Regions from separate parts of the Homo sapiens genome. Here regions 2 and 3 are each linked to region 1. The links are contacts of gene promoters, found by promoter capture Hi-C in blood cells and fetal thymus (Javierre and others, 2016). All regions are on one chromosome and are shown on one strand. The core of a region is centred on a gene start or on the middle of the fragment in contact, and the rest is flanking DNA. Distances in the headings are between cores, read along the strand shown. Region 1 holds the start of LINC01605 (long intergenic non-protein coding RNA 1605). Region 2 has its middle 230 kb from the start of LINC01605. Region 3 overlaps LINC01605 (long intergenic non-protein coding RNA 1605).

Region 1 (4,145 bases), core at 1,205-3,704:
AACTGCTAGGAGTTTAGGACTAGACTTTATCATTTTATGGAGGATTTAAAGCTACTTTTATCTGTGGGGTATTGTTCCAAAACCAAGGCCATATATTTTTATGTGTTTTACGTAAGTGCATGTGTAATTTATTGATAGCAAGGTTTGCATGCATTTGTTCTGTGAATCAGCTCGGGCTGGACTTCCTGGGAATCCCAGGCGAAGATCTCAGGGTCTCTTTCTGCTGATGGCTCTCCCTTCCACGACCGGTCCCTTCCCTTCCCTGGGCTTCAATTTCCACGTTGGTAAATGAAAGGGTTAAGCTATTTCTACAATCCCTTCCTTCTTGGGCATTGTTGATTCCTGGGAAGCCCTGACGAAGAGAGAGGACGGTAAGAGTTTACCTAAACGTCTCTGCACCCCATGCTTGAAAACTCAAAGATCAGCCCCGAAGCGTCCATGAATCCTGGGACAAAGAAAAGGACTTCAAGGCCTCATACCTATCAACAAGAGAGATTCCTGCTCCTCCAGCCCCTCCACCCCTTCACTTTTGTGCTGAGGAACCCCCCATCACCAGGAGGAAGGAAGCCTGCCCAGTAAAGGGGCACTCCCAACAGCCCACCAGCTCCTGCGCCCAGCTGCCCCTGAAATCCTCGGACTCATTTTGTCCAGCAGCCTTGACTTTGTCAGGGGTACCAGTCATGTAATCCCTGAGGTGTCTACAAAACCCCGCAGTCATGGGCTCCATGCACACTCAAGAACAATGAGGAGCTTCAAAAGCTAAGGAGGCTTTTCCCAATGCTTCCATGGTGTCTCGATGGTTCCTGAGGTCTTGATACTCTGCCATGGCTTGGCAGTTTGGAAATGGTTTCCTGGTCTGGCTGTCCTAAGGATCCCTGGTTGTGTGACTGGGAACAAACCCTTCAACCTTCCAGGCACAGTTTTCTTCTGTAAAATGAGAGGGTTGGGTGCAAGTTTCCTGAGGCCCTGGGGCCTTGTGGCTGAGTTTATCTCCCCGACTCCCTGTCCATCCTCCTATGGAAGTACTCATAAAGCATTTCACAGCCACAAGGAAAAGGCACACAAGGTCCCCCAGCCCCCACACACAGAGGAGCCACACCTGCACCCCTCCCTCAAGGCCAGGCTTCCTCTCCCCCAGCACACGCAAGTTCTTCTCGGCCTCCCAGCTCTTTTCAGCAGCTCCCCAGAATGGAACGGCCCAGCCATGGCTTCTCAGAGGACAGCTTCTTGGCAGAGCTGGGAGTGGGTGGAGTAGAGCACATTTTTTCCTTTGAGGTCCAAAGGGCTGTCAACCCTCTTCAGCTGCCCTGGGGCCCAACAGCCACAGAGAGAGATTTATGACCTGGATAGCTTTGATCCCAGTCTCCGATAAACATCAGGAACAGCTCGACCCTAAACCCCGAGGAGAAGGTTTATGGATCAGAATGCAGCCTCCTGGAGAAAACGAGCCCAGGAGGGGGTGCCCAGGGACTGATTGGGCCCTTAAAGTTCTCTCATCAACAGACCCACTGCCATCTGCCCTTGCTTTCTGGGGAAAGGGACACAGCTGGGTGGCTGAGGCCTTTGAACAAGAAGCAATGCTGATCAGAGAGAGGTGAAGATCCTGTCAAAGGTTAAACTGGGGAAGGGGTGGAGGCGGTGGGCCCAGGCCTCTGAAATTCCCCACCCTCGCTCACCTGTTCTTCCAAACAGCGTTGTCCATGTTTCTCTAAACCACACACCAAGACAGAGCAGAGAGAGAACGCACCAGATAAGATCTGAGCTGAGAAAGGAATGTTTCATCCGTGGGTTTTGTTGTCCCTGTTCTTCTTGTTGATACTGTTGTTCTTGGTGATGATGGGGGTGGTTAATTGCTTGATTATATTTCATCCCTGTCTTCTTTCCAAAAGGACAGGGGGCCAGGAGAGTCTGTGTGGTCACAAACCCTTCATAGCTTTTTCCCGTCCCCTCCACTTGACCATGTGGGATGGCAGGGAATCCACACCCTCTTGGAACATCCCCTGTTTTGCTGATTGAAAAGAGATCCTAGAAACAGCACTACATCCAAGGTGAAGGAGGGGCCAGCCAGTCTCCTCTGGATGCCACCTCAGATGGGTTGCCTCAAGTTTAAGGTCTCAGCCACATCCATAAAACTGTTCCCCTCTGTGAAGCAACTTCTGCCATGGGGAGGTGGAGAAGGATCTTCTCAAAGCAAGTCCGACAGGCAGAGTCTTCACTCTCCGGGGTCCGGAGTGTTCTATAGACATCGGGAAACATACATCCATCTAAAAAGACACCCTAATAAACCTGCAGCTATTCATTGCACCCAAGAAACCAGCCTGTGGCCCACGCATGCAGGAATAAACACATATTTGCTGAGAACCAAATTGGGTCTAATGACCCTGGCCTGTCTCGCAGGGTCATCCTGAGAAATAGCTGATGTCAGACGACGAGCGTGAGCAGCTGTTCTCCATTTGCACTCAACAAGAGAAAAGGGCCTTAAATTTCAGCGGGAGGGATTAAGGTTAAACATTAAGAACAGCTTCCTGGCTAGGAGGGTTGTGAAACACTGTAATGTGTTACCAAGGATGCTGTAGACATTCCTCTCTCAATGAGACTTTAAAGAGGAAGGAGGTTGGTGATCTGCCCAGGAGGTTTTATTAGAAACTTTATTAGGTCATCTGGTCCATCCGCCTGAAGGCAAGGGCTTGGACTAAACACCCACCAAGCAAGGCCTTTCTGGGCACAGGAAGGCCTCTATAGTCCTTCACAATCAAAAATGCTGAGAAACTCCCTGGGCCCTAGACAGTGAAAAGAGAAACCAGAGTCATCAGCGAGGCCACCCTTTGGGGCCTGATTTCAAGCTTTAGCTAGTGTTAGTCGCCCATAGCAATAAGAGGGAGAAATGTGATTTTCAAACCCTCCGGAGACCAATACAGTTATTTACCAAACAGCACCAAGTGAAGCTTCCCCACCCACAGGGAAAGGACCATTTCCTGAAAATCAGGTCGGCCCCTGGCATTCCAAGGGCAAGCAGATCACCAGTTCTGACGTGTGGGAGCAAAAGGCAAACCATAAGATCACACATCTGGCTGGGCACGGTGGCTCACATCTGTAACTCCAGCACTCAGGGAGGCCAAGGCAGGATCGCTTGAGGCCAGGAGTTCAAAACTAGGTTGGGCAACATAGTGAGACCCCATATAAACTAAAAAAAAAAAACTTAGCTGGGCACGGTGGTGTGCACCTGTAGTCCCAGCTACTCAGGAGACTGCAGCAGGAGGATCGCTTGAGCCCAGGAGTTTGAGGCTGCAGTGAGCTGGAATCATGCCACTGGACTCCAGCCCAGGCAACAGAGAGAGAGACCCTGTCACAAAACAAAACAAAACAAAACAAAACAAAACACCACATCTTATTGCCAGTGGAACAATCCACCCATTTCACAGATTGGGAGACTGGGGCCTAGATATGGGCAATGTCTTCACACAGTTACTTTGTATCAGAGTTAGGACTGGAAAACCCTGGTTAGGAGGCTGACTTTATCACTCACTACCTGCGTGACCTCAAGCAAGTCATTTAACAACCTCCGGCCCTCAGTAGCCTCTGCTACAAAATAAACAGTTTTTAATCAGGAAACCTAATACACGGAGCACTGTCATCAACTCCAGAGCACTATAGATGGAAAGTGACTGCCCTTGTTACCATCACTCTCACTTCTAGTCCTTTCTGTTCATCTAAGCTGCTGTAAATGTAGTCCTCTAACTTGGAGGGGATCCTTCTAAGTTCTCAGATTAACAGAAAAGTAAAATCTTTGATCTTTAAGACCATGGAAGGTATCTCGTTGGTCTTAGTCAACATCCCATCCAAGCCACTTGTTTTGCAGATGAGATAGGAGAGTATCCGCATACACTCAGAGAATGACAGCAGAGAACATCCCAGGCAGAGGTCGGGGTGGGGAGGAAATGCCAAGGATAAGCTTGGTTGACCTCTCAGTGAGGCTCCCTGGCCCTGGGTATAATTTTCAACTCATTAACTTGAAATCCTAGGTATGCTAAGTCATTCTTTGGTCTCTATTTCCTTAGTAGCCTCTGTTTCCACAGCCCCCAAGTTGCCTGGTTCTGGGGTTAGCACCCGGGGGTGGGAGGGTCTCCCAAAGTCATTCTTGACTA
Region 2 (4,145 bases), core at 837-3,336, 230 kb before region 1:
CTTGACTTCACTCCCAGGAGCCTTTTTCCAATATTTGAAGAAGGAGTTACATCTCTTAGGGGAGCACCTTATAGCTGAGAGGCATTTGGGAAAAAAAAAAAAAAAAAAAAGAAAAAATTGGGGAAAAGCCCAGACACTAAGCTCAAGTGACCCTGTAGCTTACGATCAGGAGAGAATAGCAATTTCTTACTGTAGCTGCTTTCTTTTTCTGGCTCCTGAAATCCCATAAAGATGCTATTGAGCCTCACTGCCTGTTGGTATCTCAGACAAAGAGCTGTCACCTGAACAGAATGATTTTCCTTCCCTTGACAGTGGACTTTCTTTGGAGGGCAAGGGGAAATGGTAAAGGGATGTTCTTTGGTTTTAAGTGGGACTCTTTCAATGGAGCATTACCTTTCCATCTTGTTTTACTTTTTATCTTTATCTCTAAGTTTTTATCATCATTCTATTTCTTCTTTGTTTTTCTAGCTTCGTTGGGTCCCTAAGCCCTCCTGGCTCACAGTATCAGAACAGTCAACAGTGTTCTGACCCATCCTTCCTTCCTGCCCCAAGTCAAGCCATTGGAGTCACATTACAAAGGTGGAAGAGTTTTCTGCATCATTCCATATGATGAATCTGGAACCCCAGAAGCAGCAATTCAGATTTTCTCAGGGGCTCAGGGCTCCTCTGTTTCTCCCAGGAATCCTTTGGTTAAAGTAGGTAGGGGTGAGAGGTCAGAACTAAATTCCCATCCAGCAGGTTTGACAGGTACATAGCATGTAGCAAGACTAAAAGCCCCAATTCCACTCCCTAATTAAAAACATTTTTCATTCCAAACCTATAAAAGGCAGATGTGCTGCATTCCCTCAACCACAGATCGCTGCTCTATATTGAGTGCGGCAGCTCCAATCCTTCTTTCCCAGGGCTTGAAAATAGAAGGCCATCAAAGCAGCGTAATCGGTGTTTCTTCCTCCACCTCCTCCTCACCCCCTCTATTTCCTCTTTTGCCGAAAAATATTCATTTCCATCTTTGCAGGGGTTATGTGTTTTAAGCTTCTTACGACACCTCCATGCTGAAATGGAGTGGGATGGTAGCCCATCTTCCAGGATAGACAGAAGGCAGCTCTTATACTTTATTATTCTAAAATGCCTTTTAACCTGGATTTTTTTTTAAACAAAAAAGAAGTTCAGGCAGCAGACCTGGCTTCATCAGCCGTACCGTGAATTTATTCAGGCCCTCTTCAGTTCAGGCATCTAGAAGCCAACTCTTGGGAAGAAGAATGAGTGAAGCGCTTGCCAAGAGGTGGTCAGAAAAATGAAATAAACACTTGCTTATAGTGTTTTTCTACCTTCGATGACTCCTTTACTCCTGAAACGCCTGGAGTTAAGACACTCAGTGTGATTACCTGGTACTGAAAGTTGCAAGTCAAATTCAGAGCATGCTGCCAATGTTTATTTGTAAATCAGCTCTCAGAACCTCTGTTTGAGTAGAGGGAGGGAGAGGATCCTATATCCATTTGTTTTTGTTCATCTGTTTCCTTAAAGGGTTCTCAAACGCCTTTTGTTTGGGATCTTCTCTGCTTTACTCCCAATGATTCTCTATATTACTCAAGGACAGGATCGCCAAGCATTCCTTCAGAACTGTTTCTCCACTGGGTCCAGCGAATGCCCTGAATTCAAAGTCAACCACAAGGAGAAGGTTTTTGGTGGATAAATGTGAGGCTTTCCACTGGCTTGGGCCTCTTGCCATAGTTGAGGTGCTCTCTCGTTTTGTGCACTTTTTCTGGGTTCCAACCAAATGGTCTTATTAAATGTTAAAAAAAAAAATTGCAGTTGTGAGTGATATCAAATACAATCAATAAACCTGAAGGAAAAGAGATCCCAAGGCATTCACAAGACACTTTTAAGATTTAATTGTTCCACAGAATTTTAAGCAAGTAGTAATAAGAAACTAAATTGCATGAAACCAAATATTTTGCTCTAGGCTTCTAATTCATCTCACTTGCTGGTTCCCAAGGGCTGGTGCCAGCACTGTGCAGCCCGGGACTTTCCAGTACAGACAGGGATTGTGCTTCATGCAAGCTAAAGAACTTCCCTGTCTCTTTGAAATGCGGCAGTTGATCAAAGTCTTCCTTACGATGAAAACGCCTGGGATCAAGGACCTAGCTGGCTGAACAGGCTGAAAGATATATTTTACTAAATACAGGGCCCACTTTCTTGTTTATTTCTTAAAAGTGAAAGATCTTGAGGGTTTCTGGAAAAGTCATGGGGGAGGGGAATCTGGTACCAAGAATGAGAGCTGCATCCAGGCATTAGCAGGCACTGAGAAGCAGTGTCAGTTGCTCCAGGGAGGTGCAGCGCAGTCCTAGCAGCTGCAGAGTCTGGAAGCCTCAGGCTGCTTCCCTGTACTTCTCAAAGGTTGAGAGGACCTGTTAATGAGGCGTATCTGCTTCCTCTTGGCTAGACCACTTGGGATAGAAGGAATCCCTCAATTCCCTAAGAAAAGCCTGCCACAAACACTCTACAGACACACAGGCAAAGCACAGGCAAGAGCCCCTCCCCTCCTATCACAGTTCAAAGGATCTTTTGTCCGTTCTGACCAGGGATACCATATCACAAAACAAGAAGACACTTCACCATAGGGCTAGCAGCCGGGGGGCCATGTTTAGTACTGGCTGTGACTTTTAGAACTGTATTGCTCCCAGCACTCTGGGAGACTGAGGCAGAAGGATTGCTTGAGTCCGAGAGTTTGAGACCAGCCTGGGCAACATGGTGAAACCTCATCTCTGCAAAAAATACAAAAATTAGCTGGGCATGGTGGTGCACACCTGTAGTCCCAGCTACTTGGGAAGCTGAGGTGGGAGGATCACTTGAGCCCGGGAGGCAGAGGTGGAGGCTGCAGTGAGCTGTTATCATGCCATTGCATTCCAGTCTGGGTGACAGAGCAAGACCTTGTCAGAAAGAAGAAAAGAGAATAAAAAAAAAGAAAGAAAAGAGAAAGAAATGTATTGCTGCAGAGGTTTAGATGAGGGGAGATGGGCGGTTAGGGATGTGAGATTTGAGATTTGAGGAGCTGAGTGCTTGAGAATAGTAGGCAGTTGAGTCTGGTAAAACAAGCACAGGCTCTAGGGTTGAGAAGACTTTTACATCCTAATCTTGGGAAAGCTTACTTTCTCTAAGCCTCAGTTTCCTTATCTGTAAACAGAAACAGCAATAGTTCCTACTCCATAAAGACAGTGTGGTAGTAGTGAATAAAGAGCCCAAGCAAAGTAGCTTGGGCTATCCCTGGCACTTAGTAGGTGCTCAGTAAATAGTATATATTACTTTAATAATAATTCACAATTATGGGCTGGAATGCAATAGCATATAGAGGGAGGGCATCTGGCCCGGGGTTCAACGGTCTTGAGTGCATTAAAGGAAAGTGAGGGTCCAGTCTCCTGCCAAGAGGAGCCTCTGTGACTGAAGAGCCTCCCAGCCCCCACACCCCCCATGTAACTCTTCCCAGTGGGGCTTTTGCTTGAGTCCAAACTTGGTCTTGGCGCCTTTCCAGAGGCTCAATTCAAGAGAACATTATAGTAATAATATAGCTCCCTATTATACATCAGCATTTAGATAAAGAAGAAAAATGTCCTGTGGGTCTAAACCTAAAGTATTTCAGAAAATTGCTGCCACTAGGTGCTCAGAGATCCTGCCACGAAAACGAATGTACACGTTTCTGGTCAATACAACAATCATGCTGCAACTTCATAAAATTAACATAGATGGCTCCAAAATAACACAGCGGAATAGTGGACACCTCCGGCCTGTGGAGCACAGCAGCCCTTAGACAAGCCAGGCACCATCCCCAACCACCTGTGTGGCCTTGAGCAGAAGTACAGTTTGATGTGGAATTAGAAGAGAAGCTTGTGGAGCACTTCTCAGATTGCTTGGCACATAGTAAGTGCTTAAGCTCATGTCTGTAATCCCAGCACTGTGGAAGACCAAGGAAAGAGGATCACTTGAGGACAGGCATTCAAGATGAGCCTGAACAACAGAGAGAGATCCCAACTCTACAAAAAAATTAAAAATTAGCTGGGTGTGGTGGTGGGCACCTGTAGTCCCAGTTGCTCAGGAGGCTGAGGTGGAAGGATCGCTTGAGCCCAGGAGTTCAAGCCTGCAGTGAGCTA
Region 3 (4,145 bases), core at 483-2,982, 190 kb before region 1:
TTCAGTTTGTCTTGACAAAAACTCTAGATGGTAGACAGAGCATGTAATATCATTATCTTTATTTTACAACTAAATAAAATTCTGAGAAATTGTGTCTTCCCCAAAATGATGCGGTTGATATAATATCAGAGCCAAACTCAGACTCAACCATCTGAGTGCCTATCCCAGCATCATCACACCACACCACAGCTGCCCATGCAGTTGATATAATATCAGAGCCAAACTCAGACTCAACCATCTGAGTGCCTATCCCAGCATCATCACACCACACCACAGCTGCCCATGCAGTTGATATAATATCAGAGCCAAACTCAGACTCAACCATCTGAGTGCCTATCCCAGCATCATCACACCACACCACAGCTGCCCATGCAGTTGATATAATATCAGAGCCAAACTCAGACTCAACCATCTGAGTGCCTATCCCAGCATCATCACACCACACCACAGCTGCCCCTCACGTGGGTCTGCTCAGAGGTCAGCATTATCGTCAGCGTTTCCAGTTCCAAGCGACAAAAACCCAGCCCACGCTGTTCACTTGTGTTTAGGAACTTGTGTGTTTCGTTTATTTCATTTTGATGGCTTTCCTCAGATGTTTGGTGATTTTTCATTGAGTGTTCATCTTCTAACAGAAGCAAGCAAGAAAGAAAGGTAAACAACTTAAGGACGGTAGAACTCGGCCTTGACAATGGCTGGACCCAGGGACCTTCAGGCTCTCAGGATTCTCCTTCTCCATCTCCTGACTCTGCTTCTCTGTGTGCTGGCTCCCTTCTCTCCTTCTGCAGGATGTATTCTTTACATGGTGGAGGACAGGACTTCCAGAATCCCTGGATCCACATCCCAACAGCTCTGCCTACCCACCACCTTCATCCCGTTCCCCAGAAGAAAAGAGAGAATTTTTCTCTCCTACCTTCAGTTTCTAAAATCCTCAAGAAGGACTCAGGTTGGGCCAGCTTACCTGCCTGACCCTCCCCGCTGGACCAGCCACTACAGTCACGGAGATAATCATCATTGGCCTGATCTAGGTTATGGGATCCCCTCTGGGGCTGGAGAGCAGGGCCTAAATGTCAGCCCACCAACAAAATTACAAATAACTTCTCAAAAGGAGAGTACTACTGTTCTACCCTTATTACAGGAAGCCATCTAGTAGGGCTTGTGGTGAATGGCTGCCCTGTAAGGTATGCACATACAAGAACATTGGTTAGCAAAAGATATGGAGACATAGTTGTATGTTATGAACACTGGCCATGCTTCAACCTAATGTGGTGAACAGCATCTGGACTTAGGAGTCAGATAGATTCCAGGTTCAAATCCTGAAGCTGTTGTTTAAGAGCTGTGTGACCTTAGACAATATACTTAACAAGAACACTAGAATATTTGTTATTCCCTTGGGCAATATATTTAAGTTGGCAGATAATAAGCACTCAGTGGTTGCAACTATATCTCTCTAACAGCTGTACTAAGTGTATTTCCTTCTCAACTGTCCAGAAAGCAGGGATTCTCAGCCAGGATTTTGTAGAAGCTCCAGGAAAATCTTCACTTACTTCAAAATTTGTCACAAGCATCTCAAAATAATTTTTAATAAAAATCAGTTTTGTTCCTTTCACTTAGAAAGTAATTCTATTCATGAAGTTCTTTAGGAAAAGGAAGGCATGACACCAAATAAACAGAATCAAGCAACCAAAAAGGGATTTTATGGGCTGAACTGGATTGCCCCAAAATTTATATGTTGAAGCCCTAATACACAGTACCTCAGGATGTGACTGTATTTGAAGTTAGGGCCTTACAATATGTAATTAAGTTTAAATGAGGTCGTATGGGTACACTTCAATCCAATAGAACTAGTGTCACTATAAGATAAGAAAGAGTCCCCAGGGGCACACATGCAGAGGGACAGTCACATGAAGAGACAGCAAGAGGACACCCATCTGAAAACCAAGGAGAGAGGCTTCAGAGGAAACCCAACTCTGTCGTCACCTTGATCTTGGACTTCCAGCCTCCAGAATTACAGGAAAATGAATTTCTGTTGTTTAAGCCAACCAATGTGTGGTATTTTGTTATGATAGCCCAAGCTGACTAACTCATGGGTATCACAACTCTACAAAAAAAAAAAATGTAGGAGTCACTACCTTTGCTCAAGAAGGCCATCTCTATGCAAACTCTGTCACCTTGAAGCCAGATTCTGCCCTTCGCTACCCACCAAACCCATTTCGAATTCTTCAGTTGCAGAAAAAATTACAATAGCAGGCTACCTAAGCTACATGTGGCTTCCTCCATCCACAGCCAGGTGGCTTCAGAACAGCTCCTTTTCAACTCTTCTTGTCCTCGCCTTGTCTTTTCAACACCCATAGAGGTCTTTCCCTACAATGTCATGGCCAAGGAATTGCCCTTCAGGTACCAGGCCCAAGTCTCTTTACCAAGCTCTAGCAAGCTGCTGCTGTGCCATCAAGAGCCCCGGTGTCTTGAGAAATGTAACTCAGGGTTGCTGCTCTTCCGTTTGCTCATTTAATTCTCCTAGAGGTGAGTAATTTGAAAACAATGCAATTACTTGGTGCTTCTGTGTGTGTTTTACATCCATTCAACTTGAGTGACGTGAACTGAATTGACAGCTTCTGCCGGGTACATACAGATGAGTGGTGTACCCACTCACCATGCACCCCAGGAGGAGGAGCTGCCAGCCCTTGGGCAGGGGCAAAGCAGATTTGCTCCCCTGTCACATCCTACTTTCATTAGGATGGAACTCTGAAGTGTCAGCTTCTGTTTACAAATCTGTAAAATGGGGATAATAGTATTTCTTTTAGGCCGGGTGCAGTAGCGCATACCTTTAATCCCAATATTTTGGAAGTCCAAGGCAGGAGGATCACTTGAGCCCGGGAGTTCAAGACCAGCCTGGGCAACATAGCGAGACCCATCTTTACAAATAAATAAATGAATAAATAATATTTATTTTATACAATTGTTATGAGGACTAAATAAATATGTGAGAGACCTAGCAAACCTAATGTTTAATACAAACCAATTCACTTCCCATCAGTTTCTTCATCTGACAAAAAAAAGAAGAAAACAAAAAGGAAAAGAATAAACCCCCCACCATTGCAAAACGATCCAATGACGTCATATGCGGGAGATATGTATATGCATAATATCATCTGCATGGAAAGTCTAATGGTGATCACTTTTATTTATGTAATCAATAGACAGCACTTACCACATAGCACTTACCATGTGCCAAACGCTGTTCAAAGCACTTTATAAACATGAATTAATTTAATTCCTACAACAACCTTGAGGTGGCTCCTAATCTTAGACCATTTTTACAGATGAGGAATCCTGCACGGAGAAGTCAAGTGATTTTCCCAAGGTCACATGGCTAGTAAAAGGCAGAGCCAGGATCCAAGCACAGTCCCAGAAAGTTTCCACGTGCAGACATGTGACTGCCTAACCCCATTGTCTAAGTCCCGCTGGGAGGTCTGGAGGTGAAGGCTGCTTCTTTGAGGAGGGTCTTCTGCTTCCTCTCCTGGTCTTCTCCAGGCACTGCTGAGGAATCTGCAAGGAGAAACCATGACCCTGTCAGTGTCCTCAGCTGGGCTGCCATGAAACCACAGCAAGATGGGCTACTAGGGCCACAGCAGGGGAGAACAGGAGAGGGAAAAGTTGGGTGTGCCACCTGCCAACCCTGCCATCAGTCAGAGACCCTTTCTCTCTTCCCTTCTCAGCCCAAGCTCAGCTTTCAGGCACCCACTGGGGCCTCTCAGCCCCGAACCATAACTAAACAGCACCACATTTGTCACAGGCAGGGAGATCATTGCTTCTTGTTGTTGCTCAAGACTGTTTTCCCCAGGCCTTTTTTCTACCAGTCAGCATGCAAGAAAGAAGGGCAGAGTGGGAATAGCTGCTGTTATTCCACGTACTACTTCCCTCCCTCTGTGCAAAGGTGTGAGCACCCATATGCACAGAGGGCTTCACATCTGCAAGAAGAGAAACGAACACAAGAGGAGCACCAGGGCAGCACAACTGAAAGGGTGCTGGAGTTGAAGTCCGATTTCTTTTACTGGTTTGTTTATTCATTCACTCTGCAAAGATCTACTGAGTCTACGTAGTGCCAGGCCCTCCTCTCAACCTTACAAGTGTGGCAGTCAACAAGA

What was found. The method cuts DNA at HindIII sites, captures the fragments that hold promoters and counts their contacts. A CHiCAGO score of 5 or more calls a contact.
Region 2: a fragment that was not itself captured here is called in contact with the fragment with the promoter of LINC01605 in region 1 in 4 of 17 cell types (M1 macrophages, M0 macrophages, total B cells and 1 more); the score reaches 7.3 in M1 macrophages.
Region 3: a contact is called between a fragment that was not itself captured here and the fragment with the promoter of LINC01605 in region 1, in 3 of 17 cell types (monocytes, total B cells and naive B cells). The highest score is 5.9, in monocytes.

The regions. Positions count from the first base shown.
Region 1 is chr8:37,597,385-37,601,529 of GRCh38, forward strand. LINC01605 (long intergenic non-protein coding RNA 1605) reads right to left here and starts at 2,455. Exons shown (of 5, transcript NR_170186.1): 1 at 1,677-2,455. The HindIII fragment of the contact is 9,185 bases long and covers 1-2,841 here.
Region 2 is chr8:37,368,870-37,373,014 of GRCh38, forward strand. No RefSeq gene overlaps it. Among named protein-coding and RNA genes, the nearest start is that of LINC01605, 230 kb to the right of the region's middle. The HindIII fragment of the contact is 2,112 bases long and covers 1,031-3,142 here.
Region 3 is chr8:37,403,474-37,407,618 of GRCh38, forward strand. It overlaps LINC01605 (long intergenic non-protein coding RNA 1605), which reads right to left. Exons shown (of 5, transcript NR_170186.1): 5 at 3,157-3,546. Among named protein-coding and RNA genes, the nearest start is that of LINC01605, 190 kb to the right of the region's middle. The HindIII fragment of the contact is 8,119 bases long and covers 1-4,145 here.